Linked DNA regions of Homo sapiens: region 2 is linked to region 1. The links are contacts of gene promoters, found by promoter capture Hi-C in blood cells and fetal thymus (Javierre and others, 2016). All regions are on one chromosome and are shown on one strand. The core of a region is centred on a gene start or on the middle of the fragment in contact, and the rest is flanking DNA. Distances in the headings are between cores, read along the strand shown. Region 1 holds the start of CORO2A (coronin 2A). Region 2 overlaps ANKS6 (ankyrin repeat and sterile alpha motif domain containing 6).

The links. Contacts are between HindIII fragments. The CHiCAGO score rates a contact against its expected background, and 5 or more counts as called.
Region 2: a fragment that was not itself captured here is called in contact with the fragment with the promoter of CORO2A in region 1 in 1 of 17 cell types (endothelial precursors); the score reaches 5.1 in endothelial precursors.

Annotation. Positions count from the first base shown.
Region 1 is chr9:98,191,353-98,194,052 of GRCh38, forward strand. It overlaps CORO2A (coronin 2A), which reads right to left and starts at 1,285. Exons shown (of 12, transcript NM_052820.4): 1 at 1,207-1,285. RefSeq lists an enhancer at 138-792 and silencers at 945-994, 1,065-1,614. The HindIII fragment of the contact is 3,890 bases long and covers 1-2,324 here.
Region 2 is chr9:98,766,871-98,769,842 of GRCh38, forward strand. ANKS6 (ankyrin repeat and sterile alpha motif domain containing 6) reads right to left here. Exons shown (of 15, transcript NM_173551.5): 11 at 1,211-1,380. Among named protein-coding and RNA genes, the nearest start is that of ANKS6, 28 kb to the right of the region's middle. The HindIII fragment of the contact is 3,112 bases long and covers 18-2,972 here.

The DNA.
Region 1 (2,700 bases), core at 35-2,534:
CTCCAGGGCAGACACCTCGGCTCCCTCTTCTTGCCTTGGCTCCCTGGGATCTGATGGGAGAAACTGCTGGGCCTGGGGCTGCTGGGTCTGGAGATGAGCATATTTAAGGGACCTGACCACTGCCCCAGGGTGAGGGAGGAAGGGTCAGAGGTTGTTTGTGTGTCCAGAGCAGGACCAGCAGGAGAGGCAGTGACTGGGTAGCAGATTCCAGCTTGGTTTACAACTAGTGAGATTCCTATCACAAGGAGTGTGCAAGGGGGCAGCAAGACCTTCCAGAGGGGATCTTACAGAGGGGCTGGGCCAGATGCCATAGGTCTTCTTTACCTAGGGAGCCTGGGACCACAGTCCCTCAGACCTGTGCTCTGCCCCATCCCTTAATGCCACGCGGACACAGCACCTTGGCACTGTCACCCCTCTGAGGTCCAGGCGTGGCCGCCAGTCACCCCTTGTCACACCAGCTAGTGTGTGTCACACCTTATCACACACTAGCTCTGGGACACAGAGCTAGGCACCAGCACCTGGCCCGGGTGGGGAAGGGGAAGGAGCTATCCTATACCACTCTCTAAATCGAGGTGCCTACGTGGGGCTGGTCCAGGCAGTCGTGCCGCCAGGAGTCCAGCCACCTCCAACCTAGGGCTCCTCCAGCCCCAGACGAGTAAACCCTCTTGGCGGGCCGGCTGATGCCCCACATGCACGCCCAGGCCGGCTTGGCGGGGACCCGGGGATGCCCCCCACCCCACCGTTTCCTGTACCAGGAAGCTGAGGCCCAGCAGGTAACGCAGCCAAGAGGGGGAGGGTCCCGACAAGAGTCCCATGGAGCACCCGGGCCACAGCAGGGGCCTGTCGGGACCGGCTGGCCGCGCCCAGAGTGAGCTTCCCTCACCGCGGGCAGGAGGGGTGGGCGGTGCAGACAGTGCTCATGAGGGCAGCGAGCCGTCGGGAGCCCGGACCTCGAGGCGGCCCCTCCCAACAACCCCGCGAGAAGGGGGCCACCAATGAGCAAGCTATCCTGACGGGGAAACTGAGGCCTGGAGAGGAGCAGTGCTTTGTGCAAGGTCACGCAAAGGGGCTGAAAGCCAGGTCCCCCGCGCTCCGAGCCCCGCATCCCTCCCTCTCCGGGAGCTGCAGCCGCAGCGCGCACGTCCCGCCCGACGCCCCCATCGCGCAGACCGGGAAGGCACGGCCGGCGGCGCAGGGCCGCCCTACCTTGATGACTGCCGCGCAGGTGGCGGTGGCGGCGGCGGCGTCCAGCTCCGGCTCCGCGCTCCTCGCCGCCCGCCGACTCCCGGCGCCCAGAGCCGCCGCCGCCTCCCCCTGCAGCCCGGCGGGCGGGGCCGGAGGGCGGGGCGGGGGCCTGGCCCAAGGTCCGCCCTTTTGCCCGCCCCGCGGGTCCGCCCTGGCCACCCTTTTCCGCCCCCACGACCCCGACCGCGCTCCTGGCTCCCCGGGGCGGGTCTCGGGGCGCGCACACGTGCTGGGAACAGGCGCGCACACGCCGCAGTGATTGGGGCGGGCTGCCGGCCACCAGGCGGAGGCTGGGGACAGGCAGAGCCGCGGGCCCCACGTCGCGCCGTGCCCTCGCTGCGTGGTGTGGGATGAGGAACCTGACCTCCCGGAGCCTCAGTTTCCCCCGTTGTGAAATGGAGACAGTAACCGCGTCGGCCTCTTAAGGCTGTTTGAGCCCTGGATGTGACGATCCCGGCCGGGTACAGTGCGCGCGCCGAGCCCGGCCAGGGAAGCGCTCCTTTCCCCGAGCAGTTACAGCGGTTACCGAGGCTTCCCCGTCCGCAGGGAGGAGAGGAGCCGGGAGCGCCGCTGGGAACCGAGGAGGACGCCCTTCCTTCTCTCGGGACCAGCCGGGGGCGCTGCTGCCAGCCTCGCTGGCTGGAGAGCCCTGAGGACACTAGACAATGGGGAGGCCCTACCTTTGGGTACCACCCCCACCTAACACTACTGAGCCACGCACTCCTCTAAGCGCCTTCTGTGCATTACCTCGCTTCACTGTCACACAGGCCTATGAGGTTGATACCATTACTCACCTATTTAACACAAAAGAGCTGAGGCACAGAGATATTAAGTACCTAGGTTAAGATCACCCGGCTAGTCATGCAACCCCAGGCAGTATGGCTCCCACGGCTACTAAGCTAACAGCCACTCCACTCCACACCACGTCTGTGAAGAGCTCTTGGTTTTGTTCAGTAGAGACGGGTTATCTTGAGGGCCTTGAACTGCTCCGTGGCACATAGTAACCACTCAATATATAGTTGTGGAGTGGATAACAGAGTACACTGTTACTACTTTACATATCTGTATCGTTTCTTCTAAGCTTCTAATAATAGTGGCTTTATTTAGCCACTATTATTACCTCCATTTTACAGATAAGAAAACTGAGGCTTGGAGTGGCAAGGTACTTAGGGAGCTCTTGATTCTCTCCTTAGAATGTGACTCAGCTTCCATAGTCCACTGTACCACCCCCCTGCCCAGAGCTGGACGGGCTCCCTGCCTACCACCCAAAGCCCAGTGTGCACTATGGTCCTGAAAACCCCATCCTACAGCTCTGATTCAGACCTTCTGGAGCTGGATTGCCCAGCAGGTAGACTGAACGCATGCTTCTGGTGTTAGCGTGCAAGAGTTGGGTATCAAGCATATGGATGGCTGGGCGCAGTGGCTCATGCTTGTAATCCCAGCACTTTGGGAGGC
Region 2 (2,972 bases), core at 324-2,823, 580 kb after region 1:
CTTTTCTCACTGAAGGAAGCTTATGACATCTAAGAACTATGAAGAGTGGGGTTTTGCCTGGACATAGAGTCCCCTCAGAGGAGGAAAGGGTTATGCTGCACTACTGGGGAGTCACTTGGTGGAGGAGCCAGCTCACACTCACGACTAGGAACCCGCACTCTGGGGGCTCACCCAGAAATCAACCAAGGCAAAGAGGTTCAGGAGGCAGAGGCAGAGTCTGAAGACACTAAAAAACTTCTTGTTCCAGGAAGGCATCTAGGTTTTCTTGCTTACTGCATTATCTGTAGATGCTAACAATGTGGTGACTGTTCTCTGGCTGCATTAATGGAAGCACAGTGCCCAGAAGCAGGGAGACAAGGTCCCGGCTCTGTCCTGCTCATGTCCTTCCTTCAGCTCCTCCCTTAGGCCACGCTGTCACCTCTGGAGTGCTACACAAGTTGTTCCCTCACACCAGAACAGTTGCACCAACACCCCTGGCCCACCCACACCCCTTTTACCTGGCTCCATTCTCATCCTTCAGATCCCCATCCAGATGGCCCTGATGCCCTCAAACCTGGGTAGGGCCCCCCACCTGTGCCCCTACAGCATCCTTCCTGCTCCACAACAACCCCTATCACACTGAGCTGTGACTGCCTGTGTCCTTAGAGCGGTTGCCAAATTTCCCAGTTCACAGTTGGATCCTTACTGTTAGCTGTGCCAGGCACAGAGCAGATGCTCCCAGGATGTATACAGTGGATGAATAAGGTTGAAGGACAACAAAGACCACTAAGAACGCTGTCAACAGGAACAGCCAACACGGACATGAGCTTATCCTGTGCCAGGCCCTGTTCTAAATGCTGAGGTGTGGGGCTGAGAGCTGAACCCAGGCAGGTTGCTCCTCAACTCATGCTCTTAAACCATTCATCCTCATCAATGAACAAATGTGTGCAGTGTGAGGCTGGGTGACCTGTGGGACTGCAGGAAGTGGGTGTGTACCCTGCCACTGTGCAGCAGCCCAGTGCCCCTCAAACCTGGAGATGTGAGGGGAGGTAAACGCCTGGTGCGGAGGACCATTTCAGCCCTTCTCATGCAGCCCAGGAGTGGCTGGCTGGAAGGGGCCTGTCTTTAGTCCTGTCCCATGACTAAGGCACTGCCCATGCTTCCCGGCAAGTGGCCCATGTTAGAACAGAATCTGTGAGTGTAACAGGAGGAGGCCACACAAAACAAGCACCTTGCCAACAGGAGCGCTGCCACCTGCAGGGGAGGCTGGAAGCTCAGACGGGCTGGACCCCGGTGCTGGCCCCACAGGGCTTGACCGATGGCTGGGTTTCTGCTCCAATAATCCGGCTGCTTTTTTCCTCTGGGCAGCGATTTGGGACAAGACATTGTCTATGCTGCCACCTGAGGAAACACAAAATGAGTGAACACCATGGGCACAGAGGGCTTACTCCAACACAAGGGTGGTGGACTGTCGTGTGATGATTGGGTTGGAGCCAGTCTCCCAGACTCCCTTCCCCATGTGGCTCCAGGACAGGACTGACCACAGGAGAATTCTGCAGGAGAACCAGGAGGTAGATGTTTAGGCAGCAGGCTCTGTGCTGCGAAGGCGTAATGGTAAGAGGTGGGAAGCAGCAGCAAAGGCAAAACCCAGTCCATCCTCGCTTTCCCCGTGCCACAGCCAGCTTGTGCCGGCCCCCACCAGGCACAGATGCAACACCCTGCACTCGATGCCCACAGAAGCCCCTCTGCAGAGCCGGCCAGCAGCTGCACAGACCGTCTTGTCTGGCTGCACCAGGGCTTCAGGAGGGCTAGTGAGTGATTGGTCCCTCACCCTTTGACTCTCCCTTTATGTGGCCACCTACTCTCACGACTGAGTCAATAAATTCCCAATTCCATAATGCTCAGAGTGCTCTGCTTCCTGACTGAACCCTGACTGCCATTCTCCCTCACCCTGCTTCCCAAATCTACTGGTAACCTTGAACTATTATAAAATAAAGGGGCCGGGTGCAGTGGCTCACGCCTGTAATCCCAGCACTTTGGGAGGCCGAGGCGGGCAGATCACAAGGTAGAGATCGAGACCAGCCTGGCCAACATGGTGAAACCCTGTCTCTACTAAAAATATAAAAAATTAGCTGGGTGTGGTGGCGGGCACCTGTAATCCCAGCTACTTGGGAGGCTGAGGGAGGAGGATCGCTTGAACCCAGAAGGGGGAGGCTGCAGTGAGTGAAGATCGCACCACTGCACTCCAGCCTGGCAACAGTGAGACTCTGTCTCAAAGAAAAAAAAAAAAAAAGAAAGAAAGAAAGAAAAGAAAACAGTGATAATACCCAGGGCTGGGGGGTGCTCAAGAGGGACACTAATGACTAACATTTATAGAGGATTTACTATGTGCCAGGCGCTGCTGTAAGTATTTCACATGTTTAAACAGAGCCATTCTGGAGGGCAAAACATATCAAAAACCTCAAAAATAGGCATACTCACAAACTCAGCCACCCTGATTCCAGCAAATTTAAATAAATGAAATCACTGAACATACAGGTGAATATGGAGGCATGAAGGTATTACGTAGGGAGGTATTACCTATAAAAAGCAAAAATCTAGGAACAGCCTCAGTGTTCAACACAGGGAATTGGTTAAATGAACTGTGATGCCTCATACAAATGGAATACTGTTTGATTATTAAACAAGGTGCTGTAGATATATATGTATCAACATAAAAAGGTGCTCACAATCTAGCAATGTGAGGAAAAAGAAAAAAGCAAGTTACAGAGCAGTTTATAGTTTAGAAAGGCACGTGGTTCCAAGAACAGGCTCTGAAGTGAGACTGCCTGGGTTTGGATCCTGGCTCTGCCAACTAATAGCTATTTGACCCCGGACGAGTTATCTAACTGTCCTTAGCCCCAATCCCTCATCTGTAAAACAGAGGTGGTAACTTCACTGCCTGCTGGGGCACTGAAGGAGATAATTCATTCGAAGGGCTTGGCACGCTACTT